2 separate regions of the Homo sapiens genome follow, and region 1 is linked to region 2. Evidence: promoter capture Hi-C in human tissues and cell types (Jung and others, 2019). All regions are on one chromosome and are shown on one strand. The core of a region is centred on a gene start or on the middle of the fragment in contact, and the rest is flanking DNA. Distances in the headings are between cores, read along the strand shown. Region 1 overlaps ZFP64 (ZFP64 zinc finger protein). Region 2 holds the start of ADNP (activity dependent neuroprotector homeobox).

Evidence for each region. The method cuts DNA at HindIII sites, captures the fragments that hold promoters and counts their contacts. A contact is called where the count stands out against the background at its distance.
Region 1: a contact is called between a fragment that was not itself captured here and the fragment with the promoter of ADNP in region 2, in 1 of the 25 tissues and cell types used here (lymphoblastoid cells).

What each region holds. Positions count from the first base shown.
Region 1 is chr20:52,169,419-52,174,923 of GRCh38, forward strand. The region is part of intron 2 of ZFP64 (ZFP64 zinc finger protein); the gene reads right to left. Among named protein-coding and RNA genes, the nearest start is that of ZFP64, 20 kb to the right of the region's middle. The HindIII fragment of the contact is 6,575 bases long and covers 726-5,505 here.
Region 2 is chr20:50,927,747-50,933,281 of GRCh38, forward strand. It overlaps ADNP (activity dependent neuroprotector homeobox), which reads right to left and starts at 3,691. Exons shown (of 6, transcript NM_001282531.3): 1 at 3,080-3,691; 2 at 905-1,079. ADNP-AS1 (ADNP antisense RNA 1) reads left to right here and starts at 3,238. Exons shown (of 3, transcript NR_110009.1): 1 at 3,238-3,308; 2 at 3,629-3,703. RefSeq lists silencers at 2,910-3,089, 3,230-3,279, 3,430-3,649, 3,949-4,136, 4,000-4,179 and 2 more and enhancers at 2,520-3,310, 3,730-3,849. The HindIII fragment of the contact is 17,322 bases long and covers 1-5,535 here.

The DNA.
Region 1 (5,505 bases), core at 2,763-5,262, 1.2 Mb after region 2:
TGCACAAGTGACCCCCTGTGCTGGAAGGTGTTCACAGTGGGGTGAGTATGGGTGGCCAGGTCCTCCCTACAAGTCAGCTCGCGGGCTCCTCAGCACTCTCTTGAAAGGTAGGTGGTAGGCCCTTCACCCTCCTGCCACTTTCTGCTCTCTCCAGAGATTGGCTGGGCTCCATCTCTTAACTGTCCTCTACCATAAGCCTGGGCAAGTCACAGCAGAGGGAAACACAGGAGTATTTTGGATATCAACCCCTTCTCAGATGTATAATTTGCAAATATTTTCTCATTCCATAGGCTGTATTTTCATTTCTGCTGTTTCCTTTGATGCACACAAGTTTTAAAATTTAACGTAGTCCCAGCTGGGTGCAGTGGCTCACACCTGTAACACCAGCACTTTGGGAGCCCGAGGCAGGCGGATCACCCGAGGTCGGGAGTTTGAGACCAGCCTGACTAACATGAAGAAACCCCATATCGACTAAAAATACAAAATTAGCTGGGCATGGTGGCATATGCCTGTAATCCCAGCTACTTGGGAGGCTGAGGCAGGAGAATCGCTTGAACCTGGGAGGCAGAGGTTACGGTGAGTCCAGATCATGCCATTGCACTCCAGCCTGGGCAACAAGAGCAAAATTCCGTCTCAAAAAAAAAAAATTAATATAGTCCCATTTGTCTGTTTTCACTTTTGTTGCCTGTGCTTTGGTGTCTTGGAGAGGCAGCAGGAAGCATCATGAGTGGGCAGGTTAAACACAGCAAAGGGCCGGGCGTGGTGGCTCATGCCTGTAATCCCAGCACTTTGGGAGCCTGAGGTGGGCGGATCATTTGAGGTCAGGAGTTTGAGACCAGCCTGGCCAACATGGTGAGACCCTGTCTCTACTAAAAACACAAAAATTAGCCAGGCGTGGTGGTGCGCACCTGTAGTCCCAGCTACTCAGGAGGCTGAGGCAGGAGAATCGCTTGGACCCAGGAGACAGAGGTTGCAGTGAGCTGAGATCATGCCACTACACTCCAGTCTGGGTGACAGAGGGAGACTCCATCTCAAGGAAAAAAAAACAAAACCCAACAGCAAAGGGATTCAGGCACCCAGGTGCAGGGATCATTTTGGGGCAGGGCTAATCCCATGTAACCTGCGAGTCATCCCAAAGTAGATGGCTATAGACCAGAAAGGGTTTGCTCCAGAGCTTAGGCTGTGTCTTACCTCCTTGGTCCTCAGTTTCTTTACCTGGAGAATGTGGACAATTTCCATTCCTATCTCCTAGGGCTGCTGTGAGGATCAGAAACCAGGCATGTAAAGCTGCTGTTGCTGTTGACTTTATTCACTAATTTATTCAGCAAATATTTATTAGGTACTGTACTGACTGTGTGCCAGGAACTGTTCTAAGCACTAGAAACAGAGCAGTGACTCAGAGACAAAAATCCCTGCCCTCATGGAGCTGACACTCTAGTTAGGAGTGGTGCATGCAATAAGTATTTAAATATATAGTGTGCAAATCAAGTGGTGTAAATATTACAGAGAAAAATAAAGCAGGGAAGGGAACCAGGAAATGCTGGTGGGCATGCAATTTTAAGTAGGTCCAGGAAGGCCTCAGTGAGAAGGTAACATTTGAATATAAAACATGGAAGCATATAATTATTATATTAATAGTATTCTGTTGCAGGTGTCCAGAATTCAATAGCAACAAAGGGGCATTGGGTGCTGAAGACTCTCATCCAGATGGTCGGCTTGCTGGCGCCTCCTAGCTGGATTTATCAAGGGTATCCCTTCCCACACACGTGGCCTTTCTAGAATCTGCTGTGAACAGCAGGACCTGCAGAGACACCCCAGGGAAAGGCTTATGGTAATCACTGAGGGACTGCTGGCAACCAGAGGCCTCCTCATCCCCTTTGGTTGTTTGCATGTGATTTGATGCCGGAGTCGCCACTCATCCCCAGGGGGTGTGTGTGCATATGTGTATGTGTATGTGTATGTGTCTGTGTATGCGTATGCGTATGTGTATGCGTATGTGTATGTGTATGTGTCTGTGTGTGCGTATGTGTGAGCATGCATGGTCAGACTGACCTTGGACCAATTTGGGTGTTTTATTTCATTTTTTTTTTAGATGGAGTCTCGCTCTGTTGCCCAGGCTGGAGTGCAACGGCGCCATCTTGGCTCACTGCAACCTCCGCCTCCCGGGTTCAAGTGATTCTCCTGCTTCAGCCTCCCTAGTGGCTGGGATTACAGGCACACACCACCACACCTGGCTAATTTTTGTATTTTTAGTAGAGACAGAGTTTCACCATGTTGGCCAGGCTGTTCTCAAACTTCTGACCTAAGGTGATCTGCCTGCCTCGGCCTCCCCAATTTTTTTTTTTTTGAGATGCAGTCTCGCTCTGTCACCCAGGCTGGAGTGCAATGGCGTGATCTCGGCTCATTGCAATCTCTGCCTCCTGGGTTCAAGCGATTCTCCCGCCTCAACCTCCTGAGTAGCTGGGACTACAGGTGCCTGCCACAGTGCCCAGCTAGTTTTTGTATTTTTAGTAGAGATAGAATTGCACCATGTTGGCCAGGCTGGTCTCACACTCCTGCCTCAGGTGATGTGCCCGCCTCGGCCTCCCAAAGTGTTGGGATTACAGGCGTGAGCCACCGCGCCCGACCAACTGGGTGTTTGTATGCAATTTGATGCCAGAGTAGCCACTCATCCCCAGGTGAGTGTATGTGTGTGTGTGTAGTGGACCTTGGACCAACCTGGGTGTGTGCATGTGATTTGATGCTGCAGTCACCACTCATTGCCAGGGGTGTGTGTGTGTGTGTTGGTGTGTGTGTGTGTGTTTGTGTGTGTGTGTGTGTACAGTCAGATTGACCCTGGGCCAACCTCTGTCTCCTCTCACTAGCTATAGGGCCTTGACCAAGTCACTTCTCTGCTCTTCAGTTCTTTTGTCGGTAAAATGGGGATATTGCAGTGATCTCAGAGCTTAGATCTTGTTGTTCTAGTAAAGATTCAAGGGAAGGATAAGGCATACTGCAAGTCGGGCACACTGCAAGTTCTTGAGAATTCTCAGTGGACATTACGGTAACTATGCATAATAGGTTATTATTTATCTGTATTCAGGTTTGGCATAATGAGTGGCATGGGCCTTGGGGAATCTCAGAGCACCCTAGAAGAAGGTGAAACGCCCCACATCTGCTGAGGCGGGATGACTCATAACCTTGGGGGGAAGTGCTTCCAGTAGAGGCGTGACTTGCCCACGCCCCAAGAATATTCTCTAGTCCCTCTTTTCACCGAGAATGCAGCACGGGCCACCTCTTTATGTGGGGGTCTTATGTCTAACTTTTTGCAAGAGCTCAGGGCTTCAGCCTCTACCCTGGTGTGGCCATTAAAATCAAGCCTCCTGTTTAGTGAGATCAGACCCTGTCCCCGATACCCCAAGAAGCTCACAGCCTCACACACCTGCTGCAGCTTTCAGGTTTGTTTTCTGGCTCCAGGGGATTTCCCTTCTTTCCTGCATGTTCAGGTGTGCATCTGAGAATTGCTTATTGTATTTAGTTCTGGTTTGTAGCAGGGGCATATTCAGTTATTTGATCATGATGTTGTTTAAAATGTATGACTGTTATATGAATTTCATGAAATAGATAATCCACATCTATTTCTCTGAAGTTTGTCTCTGTGGAGTCTTAGGGCTCACATGAACCAACCATAGCTCCTTTTCTACCAAATTGCCTTTCAGACATCTCAAGACAGCTTTGATATCTCCCTATCTAATTTGCTTCCCCCTTCCCTTCTTCAACTTAAAAATTCCATTTAACAAATCCTTTTCTCTTTTTAAATGACAATGTTTATTTTTGCAAAATAAAAGTTAACATGAATTTTAGGATTTTCTTCTCTACACAGAAAAGTTGAGAGAAGAAAAAACTAGGCTAAGTGTAGTGGCTCATGCCTGTAATCCCAGCAATTTGGGAGGCTGAGGCAGGATGATCACTTGAGACCAGGAGTTTGAGACCAGCCTGAGCAACACAGGGAGACGCCGTCTCCACAAAACCATACAAAAAATAGCTGGGTGTGATGCTGTGTGCCTGTAGTTTCAGCTAATTGTGGGGCTGAGGTGGAAGGATGGCTTAAGCTCAGGAGTTCCAGGCTGCAGTGAGCTATGATTGCACCACTGCACTTCAGCCTGGGTGACAGAGCAAGACCGTCTCTAGAAAAACAAAACAAAAAACTTCCCAATGCTGTCAAAACATGGCAATATACATCCTTGCTTTTTTTTTTTTCTTTTTTTTTGAGACGGAGTCTGGCTCTGTTGCCAGGCTGAAGTGCAGTGGTGCAGTCTTGGCTCACAGCAACCTCCGCTACCCAGGTTCAAGTGATTCTCCTGCCTCAGCCTCCTGAGTGGCTGGGACTAAAGGTGTGCGCCACCATGCCTGGCTAATTTTTGTATTTTTAGCAGAGATGGGGGTTTCACCATGTTGGTCAGGCTCATCTTGAACTCCCGACCTCAAGTAATCTCCCTGCCTTGATCTCCAAAAGTGCTGGGATTACAGATGTGAGCCACCGGTGCCCAGCCTACATCCTTACTTTTTATACAAAGCTCCTATCGCTACTGTGATTAAATACTTATTTGAGAAATTATTAAATGACTATTCTCTCTTCTATTTGGTTGGAGGAGTTAAGTGAGGACAGACCCTTGTTTCTTTCCATTACTGTTCCCCCTGCACCCACCACAGAACCAGGTGAAGGGGAGGAGCTCAAAGAACATTTGTTTAATTAATGATCAGCTAAAGGGCTAACCTCTTTTATATATAGAAAATATATTTTAGGGCCGGGAGCGGTGGCTCACGCCTGTAATCCCAACACTTTTGGTGGCTGAGGCAGGCGGATCACCTGAGGTCGGGAGTTCGAGACCAGCCTGGCCAACATGGCAAAACTTTGTCTCTACTAAAAATACAAAAATTAGCTGGGTGTGGTGGTGGGTACCTGTAATCCCAGCTACTCGGGAGGCTGAGGCAGAATTGCTTGAACCCGGGAGGCGGAGGTTGCAGTGGGCCAAGATCGCGTCATTGCGCTCCAGCCTGGGCAACAGAGTGAGGCTCCATCTCAAAAAAAAAAAAAAAAAAAAAAGTATATTTTAAAAGTATAAAACTAGGATCATGGCTTAAATCATTTAATATATATTTTTAATGAAACACTTTTGCCATGTTAAAACATCTTATCATGTTGTCATTCATCGAAAACACAACCTCTAATGGCCACATAATATTTCATCATTTTGGTTGCTGAATAGTTTAACCATTTCCCTTTCTTGGACATGGAGGAGACATCTAGGAATTGACTTTTATGAGTAAAACCTGTCCAGAAGTTTAAATTTATCCCTCATTTCTTTGGGTACATTCCTTGAAATTGAAGACTTGGGTTAAAATGGTACAGATGTTTTATTACTTGGTGATTATATAATTATAACATCCTTTCAGAAAACTGAAATTATTTGCATTTTCCCCTTAACCTTGGCTGTCACAGAGACGACTTGAGAGGACAAAATG
Region 2 (5,535 bases), core at 2,441-4,940:
ACATGCTTTCTAAGAGCTCACAGCAAGTTTTCCTTTAAGGGAAAATGGCTGTTACCACTTAGGACATCATTCAACACTGTATCCCATTCGCTAAATCAAACAAAAGCCCCTCAACAAACTTCATTTCAAACATTCCGTCAAATAAGTTGTCTTCAAATTATATGGTCATTTTCAGAACTTAAATAACTGCATATAAAACACCAAATAAAGATAAAAACTATACCTGCCTACAAATACTATACAGTATTTAAAAATTTAAATAATCCCATTTAAATATGTGATTTTTCACAATGACTAAGAAATTGTAGAAGCAATGTCTCTAGTCAAATACCTGTACCAAAGGGCCTCCTTTTCACTCACCAAAATGTTACCTGGTAGCAATTCTCCAATGAAAAATTCTCCTGTTAAGCACCAACTGGTTAACTAGGTATCAAAGAATACACCCATTCAGTTCTCCATAAACTTATCTTGGTGTATTTATGTAACATACAAAGTCTTAAAGGTACCCACAAACATCAACCACTGTCAATCTTTGGTAGCAAGAACAAGTTCATGGAAAACCATGTTTTCATCAGACATTTAAGGCTTTTAGAAGCTTAGCAACTCTAGAGATTGGGTTATCAAAGTAATAGTAACTGAATACTTATACTTTATACAAAGGGGTGTAGAATGCAAATGATTACAATATTAGCATCTGTAAAAATTTCTCTTAAAAAAGCTGTAAGTAATTTCTTATGTTAATAAGTGTTCAGAACCCACTACTGCAACCAGCTCTAACCGGTTCCTTGAGGAATGTGGCTAGGCTGAAATTTTGGAAGTGTTGGTTTTGGTGGTGACCAAGGAGAAGGAAGTCTCTGGCTTCCCTGTTGCTGCAGTTCCCACCCTCCAAAATGAATATACCCACCGGTGTGAATTGACAATGTGGTCCAAAGAGCAAGGCAGGAAACGGAGTCCAGATCCTCAAAATGGTAGTACAGGGCATAACCACTAGGCCACCTATCAGTTCAGTACAAAAAGTACAACCCTGCGCATCATGGTGTAAAAGCTGGGGCCTAGGTTTCGCATTGTGCATCTCACACCTATGGAAATAACAAGAGGAGTAAAATCTATGGAAATCAACACACCCTAAGAAGGTGGGTGCTCACAGAAGACTGGTATCAACATTTTTGTAAAGGTGGTTGGCTGCTGAGATAATGAATGGCAATTACAAGTCCAAATTTGGAGGGAAACGAAATTTTTACAATCAACACTTGAGTTCGACAATGAAGAACCCAACATGGGCTTGATGTTTACCAACAAGGCTTTGCAAATCATGACACCCATCTACACACTTAATCCAACATCTCTCAAGAATGATTTTTAACTCTCAAAGAATTGGAAAGATTTGGCCTATGAAGAAGGGAGTTAACCAGCTATGCCCCCAAACCTGTTACTTTGTTTCAAACCTTCTCCTTTACCACCAGACTTAGGAAAGATATGGTGACACATTCAAAACTTGAGGTGGAAGAACTCCAGAGGAAGGGAATCCGAACCAAGGATGTGCCAAGGTGATTCGTCAAGAACAAATATGGACTGGGGGCCAACAGTTTTGAAAAAGTAAAAGGAGAAAACTTCTAAAATGCAGGGTGGGCTCTTTAAAAGAAGTAAAATCACTGCTCTTGACTCACTTAATCCTTCGCCATGTTGCTGTCAGCTCACCAACTAAGAGTGCGAGTGTGTCTTGCTGGGCCCATTTTCCCATGGTCTGTAGAAGGCGCTGTGAAGCACATCCTGTTCTAGCTCGGGGGCCCTTCCCCCCTCTGCAGCCTTACCCAGTGCAGAGAATGCGCCCCCTACTGACTCCAACACTCATCGCCTTTAGCCGACTTGGCTGCGGTGCATTTTGGGTGGGGGCTGGTATTTTCTCCATGGCCATAAACCAGAAGCAACAATGCAGATTTCTAAAGAAACTGTATCAAGCTATCCAAGAGATTTTTTTTTTTTTCATTCTGAAGGTTCAAGATACAGGCACAAGAAGCATCAGGGATGGGAACTGGGTGTGTGGGGATGGACATCATTAACATGACAAACACAGAAACAGTTTGGTTCTTTTTCCCTCCTAAGCCTTTGTCTGTGAAATGGGGTTATGGCAAGAAGTGTCCAGAGTAACTGGTAAATTCAAGAAGATTAAGAAGACTTCGTGTGTGGGGGGTGTGTGTGTGTGGCTAAAAAGGATATCAGACCTAGAGTCTTGGTCTTGGGCAGAAGAGGAAGAGAAGCAATCGCGCCTTTTCCAGCAGACAGGGATCAAGGTTGGGGGGGAGGGGAAGGCAGGCAGGCCTCCCAGAGGAAAGAAGAGGTGAATACGAGTGTGTTCACAAAACTACTCCCCATTCATTACATTAAAAAAAAATCTTTTTGCAGCTCTCTGGATTTCCATTTTCTACCACCTTACTGCAAAGTTGGGGCTCAGAATGTTCGAAAGAGGTGCTGACCAGGCAGCTGAGATTGGGGAAAAGGGATGGTGGTGAACTGTGGTCAGGATAAGAGGAAAGCTGGCAGGTTGGGGAAGAAGGATTGCACAGGGGAGGCAAAGACTCACTCCATGCCATGCATGCTCCCCGCCCCCCCCAACCCCGTCCCCCCTCCCCCAGGTAAGGGTGGGCAGACCTGGCAGAAGGCTGGTTCAAGGCATGGGGGTGTGCGTGGGGGGGCTCCTTTTGGGGGTGGGGGGCGGACGGGATTAGTTCCAGGATGGGAGAAGCTCGGTTCTGGCTGGGGGAGATGCCCTTAGCTGCAAAAGCTCCGGGCGGCCAGGCAGAGTGCTGGCCTCGGTGGGCTCACAGGGCGGAGAAGGGGGTCGGGCTGCAGGAGGAGGCGCCTGGACCTCCGGAGCAGAGTCGGGTAGCGGTCCGTGCCGGGACGGGGGACCCGTCGGCGCCGGGGTGTGCAAAGGAGCGTGTGTGCGGCTGGAGGGCGGCGATGCGAACAACAATGCGCCCGCGCCCGGGGCCAGGCTGCACTGGCGGCCGCGCGGGCCGGGGTCGGGAAGCCAGGCAGGGCAGGGCCGCGGGTCCGCGCGCGGCGGCGCCGGGCTTACCTTGACTCGGCCTCGAGGCGCGCGCGGGGCCGGCGTGCTCGGGGGCCGGACAGCGGCGGCGGCGGCGGGCGGATGGCGGCGGCACGGCGGTGGCGGCAGCGGGGAGGGCGCGCCCGGGGCCTCGTCGCGCTCCGGCTCGGCGGACTCCGGCTCGCGCCGCGGCCGCGGGTGCTGCCGGGGGGCGCGGCGGGCGCAGCAGAGCGGCGGGCGGCGGCGGCGTCGTCGAGCGGTGCAGACAAAGGAGGGGCGGAGGGAGGAGACGGAGGGTGTGGGAGAGGCGGCTTCACCGGCGCGGGCGGCGGCGGCCGCGCTCCTCTCGCTCCTCAGCAGCGGGGACCGAGAGAGGGAGCTGTGTCTGAGAAGACGCCAAAATCCCCCTTAGCGCTGCCTGCGGGAGGGGGAGGGGGCACAAGATGGCGGCGGCCGGGGGGGGGGGGGCGGGAGTTCAGCTCATGGATCCCGGCGGGCGGCGGAGGGGAGACCGGGCCGGCGGAGGCGGCGGCGGCAACGGGCGGGGGAGGGGGCTGATCCCGCGTCTCCCCTCAGCAGACAATACAAGCGCCTCGGACCGAGTCCCCGAACCTGCCCTAGCCAAAATGGCGGCCGAGAAAGAGCGGAAGTGACGTAAGTGCCTCATTAGCATAAGAGGACTCATTGTCCAGCTAAATAGGGGGGGGCAGTGGGGACAGCACCCCTAACCCCCTTTTCCCCAGGGGGGGTTCCTCTTACTCCCACCCCTGCTTGCACCTAACTTTTCCTGAGGGAGGGTGCTCTCAGCACCCCCACCCCCGCTTGAGGGAAATTATATAATCCCCACTGAGGGGGGAGCTCTCGCGAGAACCAGGCGGATTTGCCATTGACCCACTAGGAGGCGCCGCGGATAATGGCCGCAGTGCGCTCCCGGGGCCCGTGTGCTCGGCGGGCGCCTTCCTCTGGCCGCAGCGCCGGCGGCGGAGGCAGAAGCAGCGGGCCGCAGCACGCCCAGCACTCAGTCAGGTGGCCGTGCTGGGGATCCCTGCGCGGGCCCAGCTGGGCCTGGACTACATCTGGCGGGAGGGGTGTGCGGGGCGGCCTGGGGCGGCTCCACGTGCTCAGATGCCCGCGCTTCCACGGCTGAGAAGCGGCGGGAAGGCGCCGGGACACCTGGCCGGTCGCCCCTGACGCCTCCTGCCTTAAATGAGGTGTGAGGGCCTCGTGCTTCACACAGCGACTTGAGATGAGACACAACCCCATGGATGCCTTAGCCCTTCCTGGTGGGGTATTCGGTGCAGAGGGGCCGAGATTTTATTAAGGTCCGCCGTTACCCTGTGACTTGACATTCTTCCCAGTCACAGTGATGGACTCTTCTCTGACCTGAATAAAAAAAAAAATGGGAATCCTAGTGCCTTGAGGCCACCCAACTGGTGAAACTTAAGGATGAGAAGTGATGTTGCCAATAGGGGCATTGGCTCTCTGCAAGATCCTTAAACAACACACTTTGTAGTCCTAGGGACATAGCTTTTGGTGCTCCCACAATCTGGGTAGCATAAGACAGCACATGGTTGCTTTGTAAATTTAGGTCAATCCCAACCAATACATTATCTCCTCAACATTTTTGAACCAACCTTTTAAAGTAGGTTGTTCAAAGTAACATTATGATTTAAAGTATCATTGGTTGGTTAAATGTATTGACAAGTAATAGATGTCAATAGTGAGGAATTAACCAAGCCTGTTTCCTTAATATGTGATCTTTAGGTAAATACACCTGTCTTTTGCTGTTTCTTTACATTTCAAGTTAACATAGTTTCAAGCCATACTTAACATCCGAAAATAATCTGAGTTCGCTGCAAGTAGTATAAATTGTGGTTACACATAGCTGTTCAACATCTAAGACTTCAGTTAGCCCTGTTTAACAAACTTTTATACAACACATTTCTGCAATTGTGATAAAATGTATCTTTAAAAGCCAAGTCAGTATTTCAAGGGAAAACAGCTGAAAAAAGTCGTGGAAAAAGGGGTTGGGGCAAAGCATTTGATTCAGAAAACTAAAGAATCTAATTACACACTGCAGAAGACAGATAAAAACTAATATGAAATAAGCAAAGTAAGTTTAAGTTTAGTTTTTCTTAGATATACTTAGATTCCATATAGTGATAATACAAATACAAGGGAAAACATCTGGATTTCATCTTTGGCCTCATTTACAAAGCAAAATGGGATGCTGGATTCAGATGTAAATATTTAATTTTACAGTGTTTAAGCACCAGATTTACTACAAAAATGCATCTAAATATTCCAGATTCTTTTCTAAATGACTTCCAAATGCTATGAGTCTTCACTGCTCAAATACTCTATGGTAAATTCCAAGAGTGACAGTGTTGTGATAATGATTGTGTGAATAACTAAAAAGATTTAAAAGGCAAACATTATCTACTCTAGTGAGTATCTGAGAAGGCAGTACTATCTATATTAGGTTC